3 separate regions of the Homo sapiens genome follow, and all the other regions are linked to region 3. The links are contacts of gene promoters, found by promoter capture Hi-C in blood cells and fetal thymus (Javierre and others, 2016). All regions are on one chromosome and are shown on one strand. Each heading gives the region's core, a stretch centred on a gene start or on the middle of the fragment in contact. The rest is flanking DNA. Distances are from core to core; before and after follow the strand shown. Region 1 overlaps CALD1 (caldesmon 1). Region 2 overlaps CALD1 (caldesmon 1). Region 3 holds the start of CYREN (cell cycle regulator of NHEJ).

Region 1 (3,348 bases), core at 621-3,120, 210 kb after region 3:
CACCTCCACGTAAACAACTTGCTCTGGAATCACTATCTTGGGATCCGTTGCCGGGCAGCCCAAACAAAGTCACTTTTCTTTCTTCTTTTTCTGTTGTGAGACAGTCTTGCTCTGTCGCCCAGGCTGGAGTGCAGTGGCGCAATCTCGGCTCACTGCAACCTCCGACTCCCGGGTTCAAGCGATTCTCCTGCCTCAGCCTCCCAAGTAGCTGAGATTACAGGCACAAGCCACCACGCTCAGCTAATTTTTGTATTTTTAGTAGAGATGGGGTTTCACCATGTTAGCCAGGATGGTCTCGATCTCCTGACCTCATAATCTGCCCGCCTCAGCCTCTCAAAGTGCTGGGATTACAGGCGTGAGCCACCGCGCCCAGCCACAAAGTCCCTTTTCTAGCAGCATTTTCCTCACCCTAAAATCATTATGTGTCTCCCGAGGGGCAAGTGGGTAATTCAGAAGTGGATCAGTAGAACCTAGCAAATATAAACATTCATCACAAATTGAACCCATGCGAGAAGTTGACAGTTGATGACATGTGTAAGAACATGTGGAAATCTTGGGATGGAAACACTAAAATATGATCGATAACAGTTATACAGCTTAGAGTCTTTATTTACTACCTCCTAATTAATTTCATTTGGATAAGGATCCAAATTTCTGTTTCAATTTACTTTTCTTCCAGCATTTGCTTATATTAGTACTTGGCAAAAGGTAGTTTGTAGAAAATAAATGTGTTTTACTGAAATAGTAATGCTTATCTTGGCAAACCCTTTTCTCAGGAGGAAGGCAAAGCTAACAGCAATTGCATTTACCCGTGGACACTGATCTAAATGGACATATTTCTGATAGATAGTATTGAGATTGTAACACTGAAAATGCACAGTTAAATGATACCTGTGAAGCATTTCAGATTTGCCTAAACTTTACTGAGTTTCTGGATTTCCTCTGTGGCATGAATTCCTGATATTCTATTAGAGAGTTACACCTATTTAACTTGGAGCCATTAAGCAACAAATCAGATTATTTTTGTAGAATTCCACTACATTTGCCAGCGTAGGTGGAAGCTGCCAAACTGTCTGGAAGACTGTTTTAAAATTTTGGAAACTATAATTAGGAACATGCTGAGGGAAGCTCTGGAAAGCAGCTATTATCGCTTTGTTTATTTGATTCATATGAGACAAATATTTTTCCTTCTCATGCACGTTCTTCTACCTAAGAAAATGGATTGCACTTCCCATAAATCCTGCCGATGAATCTTTCAAGATCACTTAAAGAGTTTAAAGAGTCCTTTTAAGAAAATATGAACATCTGAGTTATAAGTTGGCATTTTAAATCAAAGGGGAAATATAAATGGAATTACCTGACCAGACTACATTTTAGAGAAAGACCCACTCCGGAAGAAGAGGGAGAAATGAAGGCAGGAGAAGCAGGTTTCCAATCAACCAGAGACCAAAGAGTGAGGAACAGAAGGTCAGCTGAGAAAGACATTGTTGGTTGTTTTTTTTTAAACAAAAAGAAAGACAAATTAGCTTTTTAATTTCTGTGTAACATTAGTTTAGACACAAAGAATAGACAAACCAGCTCAAACAGACATACTCAGAATTGAATTGCAGTTACAAAGTTACACTGAAATCCTATAAATTCTACCCACAAATAGCAAGGGACATCCCAGTAGCAATCTGGTGTATTTACAACATTGATTTCATAGAACTTTCTTCCATCTGGTTCTCATTCAGGAAGCCACACTAGTCTACAAAATCTAATGGGAAGAAGGATCTCACTAAAATCTATACTAACTGCCATGTTCTTCTTTCCTTTTCTTCACCCTCTAGGGGGTGATCTAGCAAGTCACATACTAATTAGTAGGTAAAGCAGGCAATGATTTTGTAATTTCTCTGCAATGCCTTTTTTTTTTTTTTTTTTTTTTTAGGAGGCTGTCAATAACCCCAGAACATGGTGTATGTTTTGTTTTGTTTTTGCTGTGGAAACCTGGATACAGTTATACCTATCATAATCATAACTGCATTTTATCTTTTTAACCTCATTAGGATGTCATACAGATGATGGTAAACTTTTCAGTTTACAAGTTAAAGTGCTGATAAAAGAATAGGGGCCAAGTTCTGGATCAAATTTTTGAGTATAATCTGCTACAAAAATGAAAGATTGCAAATATCATAAACGTGCAAAAATTAGCATCTCCTCCAAATATTTCATACTTATCAAAGAGGGAAACATAGATCTTTCTCTCCTTACTTACTATCTTGAGAGTTACTCAGTAGGTCCATAGACTGCCTTGTTTTTTTATATGTATATTTTGGGGGAGAGGGTCCTTAAATTTCATTAGGTTTTAAAGGGGTTCATAATTCAAAAAGGGTTAATAATCACTGGTCTGGAACCAGTGATTATTTTGTTTTTGAAAATAATTTCTACTCCTTATGTTACCAGAGATGCTTGGAAAACTTGAGGCACTAAAGAGCACATAACTTTTGGGTCCGGTCTCTTGCCTCAACTGTGTCCTTTTATAAACCCGCATTCTTGTACCTATTGAGAGGGGGAGGAAAAGTTGCTTTTTTCAATGTATAAAGATTTTCCAATTGTAAATTGGGTTGACATTAGTGTATACCTCCTGTGAGCCTTTATGCAAAGAATCTCGGGGTGTAGATTAATTAAACGGTTCAAGGAGTTGTGCCCAAGAAGGATTTGTGAACATTTCCATTTCTTCCTTTTTAAATTGGAAAGTGACAAAATTTAATGACTTTGGAGATTATATATGGAGCCAACAAATGCAATTAAATGGCATGGAGCCAATGGATGCAATTAAATGCACAGAGGCCTAGGATTGGAAACTTTTTCTTCTTCCTCTAGAATGTAGGATTATGACAGTGGACTCTCAGCTCCCTTGGGCACCAACAAAGCTATAAAAGCAAACTTAACAGGGAAAGCTCAGCAATATACAGTGGGGAGCTTGATACGTTTTCTTATTATAATGACAAATGCAAGCAATTGTCGTATACATTCAACAAAAAGGTGAAAAGAAATGTACTTTTTAGTAAGATAGCTGCACTTAATAAATTAAGAAAATTTTAGATTCTCAAAAACATCATTCATAACCAGTTTTTCTAGTTTCCAGTTTTATGACTTTCCTCAGGAGGTGCTGACAACACAATTAGACCAATTATTTCAACAGCTACCCAATAACTGCATTTTTGTGCCAAGTTATAAAAATGAGGCAAATTGGAACATATGGGTTCCCAATAGGCAACATACATATTCTTTTGGGAATAAGTTTAGGGGTGCTCTTGACAAAGAAGTAGCCAAAATGATGTGACCTTTCATTTTCAAATTTCTATC
Region 2 (3,247 bases), core at 710-3,209, 230 kb after region 3:
CAGAAAGGTTCAGGCGCTGGGAATGGGAAAAAGTGGCTGTAACTAAGGGTAGGCATTGAAGTAAATCCATCTGTCCACAACTGTGCCTTGAGCTTGACTCTAGCAGCTGATCTCTGGCAGACGAAATTACCCATTGCCTCTTGATTAAGAGCTAAACACAGTGATTTATGTCTATTCTTACAGAGCTGCTCCAGGAAAGTCCTTAATGACTGCATTAACCTATGGCTTCAATTTGTGAATTTTCTATGCTCTTTGACCCCAATACAACTGGAATACTCCTTATACAGACTTAAAATTATGAAATTAGCTTGGTATGATGTGGTTAAGGTTATTACTTACATGTCATTCTTTATGCTCTCTAAACCCTTTTCATATCCACTACTTCATTTAACAGTCACAATAACTGGGAAGATGTCAGGTTAGGTTTATTATCCCCATCTTACAAACAAGGAAACCACAGGTAAGACAGAGAATAATATACTCAAACTTTTGGAAGCTAGAAAGCAGTCGAGCCATGATCAGATTCTAATGCTTATCTATTAGTTGTACTCTTCTTGTAACTATAATTATACCTGAAATTAAATACGTTTTGTTATGAAACAATGAATAAACTGAAATAGAACATGTTATTCCATCTCTCCACCTCTTACCTCAAACCTTCAGGATAGAGTCTGAGAGAAGCGTTTCCTACCTCTGTCTCTAGAGTTTCTACAGTCTAGGTCTAGCTACCTTCCGTGCCTGAGATGAAGCAGAAGCTTCATCAGGTAGAACAGCTTATAAAACAGGAAGAAATGGGTACGTTTTTATGTAAGTAAGAACTAAAATTGAAATTATGTTGAATTTTCTTTTGTGATTAAGGAGGATACACAGGGATTTCATTGCAGAATTGGGAACATATTAAGACTTCAGACAGAATGCTATCCCAAGAGTCCTTATGGTAAAATTTTATTTTGGAACTGGTATTTTTAGTATTTTACACAACTATAAAAAGATGAAGACATATCATTAGCACCTACTGTGACCCCTGAGTTTCTTTAATAAATTTACTGTATGATACAGTTAGAACACTGATAATTTTAAAACATGTCGATACTCAAAGTAGAACTTCAGTAGAATGCAGAGTTTTCACTAACACAGAGTTCACCTAAGTTGGATTTGCCTGGGACTTCACTAAGCAGAATTTAGTGGCTTAATTTAGGCTTGAAGCCCTTGTTATAAGTAGTCTTTAAGAGACAGAGATACAGCTTTGCCATTTAAATACTTATTAGCAAGTAGTAAGGTCATTCTTAACTAGATGTCAACGTAGATATCCTATTCCTGACACTTTTGTCTAAGGAACAAAGGAATTATCACACCCTAACATCATTTACTACATGTAAAGAATGGTACAGTGTTTCTAGCTGTGAAACAAGAGGAAGAATAAAACAAGAAATGGGCTCAAGAAATACACTGTGCAATATTGATTTTATAATATATATATGTATATTATATATCATGCTTTTTAAACACTGAAGTAGTTCTGAATATCCTGTGTCCTCCAGAACAATAATTTTCAAGCTGCAGACCAGAAAATCAATTTAGTAGATTGTAATCAACATTTAAAAAAAAAAAAAACAGAAAATATCAGAGTGCACTGCATAGAGCAAAACAAAGTACCATTTCTTGACACACTTGTTTCAGTTATAAAAATATATACAGGTGTGTACTGGGTCATTATGTAAAATTTATTTCTTACTAAGGGCTTAGGTTAAAAAATTTAGAACTATTGGTCTAGGCTCATGCCAGTTACAGGTAAACTTTTATTTTGAACTCAAACAAGGTTAAAGGGTCCCTCAAAACCTTGCTGTCAAAGGCTCTTTCAGGGTCTTCTAGGTTCACAGGCCTGTGACTCCTCTCTCAGTCAATTTAGGGTCTTTCCTTCCAAAAATGAGTTTGCTCTCTCTTTGTGTTCATCATATTACTGTACAGGAACTGGACCGGCAAAACACATGCCTATAGAAACATCTATGGATTCCACTAGGTGTCACTCAGTCTTCATTTTGGACAATCAAAATGTCCGTCATTAGGGACTGGCTAAATAAGTCCTAATACATCCATCCAGTAGAATCTAATATCATTAATTATAGGCTTATATTTATTGGCATAGAAAGCAAGCTATGACACATTCTTATGCACAGTGCAAGAATCAATGTAAAATTATAAGTATACTCACACACGTATATACTACATATAAATATACACACGTGTGTGCATTTATCTTGAATATTATATACATAGATAAATATCTGGAAAAAGTGTTACTGCTAGTTATCTTTGGGTGGTGGGTGCTTATTTTTATTCTTCTATTTTCTGAGCGTTTTTATAATGAGTATTTTTTTCTATAATCGGAAAAAATCTTTTAATTTCTACCTTCAAAAATAAAAAATCAAAAAACCATTTTGCACTTTCTATAAAACCCTTGGTATAATTTGCATCGCTATATCTTGCTCATTGAATTGAGATTTTTATGTCATGTTTTAGAGAAAACGAGTTACAAGAAAATGCAGATATCAAAGGGAACAGTAATTAAATCACACATAAGCAGCTATGCTCAAAACAGGAGCAAAAGTTTTGTTCACACCACCTCTGCCTATGTGCATGACCTCAGCATTAGGGTGCCACTTAATGTGGAAATCGTTCCATAAAGTTCTTTCTCCCCGCACCCCACCCCCACCACCCTACCCCCGTCCTTGGCTTCCTTAGGTGTAAGTCAAGATGAGTATCAGGCCTTTGACCATTAAGAACACAGCTTGTTTTCAGTGAAGCTGGTAGGTACTAAACTTACCTAAATAGAGGCTAGGCGGATACTCTCTTCCTCTCTCCTCATTTTATATGTATATGGAGCAAAACTATACTTCTCTACTTCAATCAGCGTGAACTTCTAATTGAAACTAAAACTCACATACGTTGGTGGCTAAACAAAAATAAATAATATGGTAGCAGCTTGTTCCTGTATTTTTTTTTCCTGCCCAAAATAGAAAAATTAAGGCCAGAGTCACACGTAAGTGTTCTTAGCACTTAACTTGTCACCATCTCTTGTGACTATTCCTTTCTTCGAATTACCCAGCTTTTTGGATTTCTACACAATAGGCATGTTAATTATTAATTTGAGCTTTGAAGCTTGTTGGCAAGTTTGCTAATTGTTAAACAGACTTTTTTCTACTGACAGATTTTCTTAAACGTTATTTCTCTTAACAAAAAACTTATA
Region 3 (3,064 bases), core at 484-2,983:
ACCACAAGACAAAGAACAGGTAAAGAGGGCACACACACTTTTACCGTTTATACCAAACCAAAATCACGAAATTCAAAATCCGAGTACCAAAAAATTCAAGCCAAGTCAAAACCAAAACCAAAGTATCCAGCAATTCAAGTCAAGTCAAAACCAGAACAAGAGTGCCCATGCAGGCATGCTGTGGGTGATCAGGCCACGTTTCCACTCAGATGGAGTGGGGCAAGTTCCAAAGACTAGTCTTACCAAGTCAAGCCAAGTCAAAACCAGAACAAAAGTGCCAATACAGGCACACCGTGGGTGATCAGGCCACGCTTCCACTCACGTGGAGTGGGGCAAGTTCCAAAGACTAGTCTTACCAAGTCAAGCCAAGTCAAAACCAGAACAAAGATGTCAATACAGGCACACCGTGGGTGATCAGGCCATGCTTCCACTCACATGGAGTGGGGCAAGTTCCAAAAACTAGTCTTGACAAGCTTCAGATGTCTGGACTTCAAGTGCCAGTTCCTTCCCGGTGTTCAGCCAGTGTTAATCCTTCTCGGGAGCCTGCTATGCGCTGCTCTGGCAAGGCATTCCACCGGGGCCATTTCCTACCCGGGAGCGCTCTTTGGATTGCGTCAGTCAGGCTGGCCGGAGTCCTCTGCAGGGACGCTCCACAGGGCTTGTCAGTCACCTCGCTTCCTGGTCAGGGAACCAAGGACTGTAGCAGGACAAGCCACAGACAAAACCTCTCAGACACGGAGCTGTAGAAGAAAGGGCTTTATTCAGCTGGGAGCATTGGCAAGCTACTGCCTTAAAATCCGAGCTCCCCGAGTGCACAATTTCTGTCGCTTTTAAGAGCTCACAACACTAAAATTTCACATGAAAGGGTCGTGATTGATTTGAGCAAGCAAGGGGTACGTGACAGGGGCTGCATGCACCGATGGTCAGGGAGAAACAGAACAGGGCAGGGAGTTTCACAATGTTCTTCTATAGAATGTCTGGAATCTATGAATAACATCGGTTTCTAAGTCATGAGTTGATTTTTAACTACTAGGTTTAGGCCAGGCAGGCCCAGGTCCAGTTTTGGGCCTGGCGCTGGGCTGCCTGTCTTTGATTTCACTTCCTTTTTTTTTTAAAAAAAAAAAAAAAAACAGGTACTGAGTATAAAACAATATGAGAGGGTCTCTCTCTTCCCTCGCTTTAACTTTCGGAGGGCTGAAATTCTTTCTAGCCTTGGTTAATACAGCAATTCATTCCATTCTAGCTATTGTTATTTCTCTTACTATAATTTTACTATTAGTACTTACGCTATTCTATTATTTTCTTAATTTTCCACTTAATTAGGATAACAAACCGAGGCCGGGCTCCCATCCTCCTCAAGCACACGAGGGGGGCCTGGCCCAGCAGGGAGCTTCGCCTGGTTTCTGAGGGAATTCCCGGCGGGCCTTTCCAAAACATGCCCGTTCCCTTCCGCTAACTTCAGGGGCCAAGAATTGAACTTTCACCCTCCTCAAGCCGGTGGCGCTGCCTCGCTGGCGTTCCCAGCGCGCAGCCAACCGGATGCCAGCCGGCGGCATTACCACTGCCAGCATGGGGCGCCCGCGGACCTCCGACTGAGGCAGCTGCCGGGAGCCGGAAGTGTCCCGGGCGCCGGGACTGCGAGGGGGCCGGGAGTTCCCCAAGACCGGAAGTGTCCCGAGGCCGGGAGCCCGCGGGACCCCGGAGCGCGCGGGGCCGGAAGAGGCGGGCGGCCAGTGGAGGTCCGCAGAGTTTGGGCGCCAGGCGAGACGGCAGGGCTTAAAGTTCCGGGTGAGGCGTGGGTCCCACAACCGCTTGGAATTTGCCTCCCGGCTCCGCTCTGGAAGCTAAGAAGGGGCACGAGAGCCGGAGACGGGAACCTGAGAGCAGGGAAGCCAGTAGCCGGCCGGAGGAGCGCGCGGCCGCTCCAGTCGGAAGGAGCCGTTGCAGCCCTGCCCGGCGTGTGGCGGGGTCAGCGAGGCCCCTGCGGTGCTTCGCCCGCGCCTTCCGCTCCGCACTCACCCGCCCTCTGGGCCTCCCACAGGTCGGCGCCGCCAGCGGCGGGTACCGGCCCGCAGAGGGAGGGCGGGCTGTGAACTGGCAGCACATCGCGTTCCCGCGGGGCCCCCATTCTGCCCAGGCAGGGAGCGGCTGGGATGGGACTGAGGTCGGTCCGCGAGCGCGGTGCCCCAGAGACCCGGCTTCTGGAAGTTGCCGCGGCCTGCTCTTGGGGCCCAGAAGTAGGGCGGGGAGGCGCGGGGTCTGGAGTCTGCAGGACCTGGCTGCGAATCCAACCAGCTGATTTCAAACTTTTCTGTGATCTTCTGCAAGTTAACTAAGTCTCAGTTCCTCGTTTGCGAAATGTACTTAATAGGCACCCCAGGGTGAACTAAATTTGTCCGCACAGACTGCAGCATTGCGCTTGGGAGGCGCCTTAGGGGGTAGGAGTCACTAATATCACTGAGTTTTGACAGAAATGAAGGTGCATTGGCAAAGGTGTGCCCCATGGCCGGGCAGGTTAGGAGGAGGGCCTGGTAATATTTTTTCTTAAATTGTAAACAGCCATCTGGATGAGCAATGCATTATCAAATTATGATTCAGAGAGGACTATCGCTGACTACTCTTTTTTTTGGGCAAACCTCCGCTTCAGGAGCTTCTGGCTTGATTCCTAAGTGGAAGGTAGAGACCTAGGCCCTCTGAGTCACAACTCCATCTCTCTGGGTGAGGACTGAGCTCCAGGACTGCTGAGTGGAGGCAGAACAATTGGGATAGGGAAAAGAGAGGCCAAACTAGATCAGAGGCTGGCGTGGGCTTCAGAATCTACAGACTGGCACAGTTAATGCCTCCGGGCCCCTATTGCTGCTTCAAGTTTGACCAATCAGAAGTATCTTTAGCTTAAGGGCGGCGTGTTGGCCAATGAGACTTTATTGTGAAATAAAATGCCCTCAGTTTCATTTAACTGAGCCACCATAGAAGAGTAGAGAAATCGAGTTGGCCAGATGAGGGAGAGGCCATTAAGAGGTATTTTAGGGATTGAATGGGCTGGGCACCCAGAGGACAGTGGCAT

What was found. The method cuts DNA at HindIII sites, captures the fragments that hold promoters and counts their contacts. A CHiCAGO score of 5 or more calls a contact.
Region 1: a contact is called between a fragment that was not itself captured here and the fragment with the promoter of CYREN in region 3, in 11 of 17 cell types (total CD8 T cells, naive CD8 T cells, megakaryocytes and 8 more). The highest score is 12.4, in total CD8 T cells.
Region 2: a fragment that was not itself captured here is called in contact with the fragment with the promoter of CYREN in region 3 in 10 of 17 cell types (naive CD8 T cells, naive CD4 T cells, M1 macrophages and 7 more); the score reaches 7.8 in naive CD8 T cells.

Annotation. Positions count from the first base shown.
Region 1 is chr7:134,960,944-134,964,291 of GRCh38, reverse strand. All of the region lies in intron 13 of CALD1 (caldesmon 1), which reads right to left. Among named protein-coding and RNA genes, the nearest start is that of AGBL3, 24 kb to the left of the region's middle. The HindIII fragment of the contact is 8,794 bases long and covers 1-3,348 here.
Region 2 is chr7:134,942,766-134,946,012 of GRCh38, reverse strand. The region is part of intron 7 of CALD1 (caldesmon 1); the gene reads right to left. Among named protein-coding and RNA genes, the nearest start is that of AGBL3, 42 kb to the left of the region's middle. The HindIII fragment of the contact is 2,404 bases long and covers 758-3,161 here.
Region 3 is chr7:135,169,376-135,172,439 of GRCh38, reverse strand. It overlaps CYREN (cell cycle regulator of NHEJ), which reads left to right and starts at 1,733. Exons shown (of 4, transcript NM_024033.4): 1 at 1,733-1,788. RefSeq lists an enhancer at 993-1,212 and a silencer at 1,593-2,202. The HindIII fragment of the contact is 3,007 bases long and covers 476-3,064 here.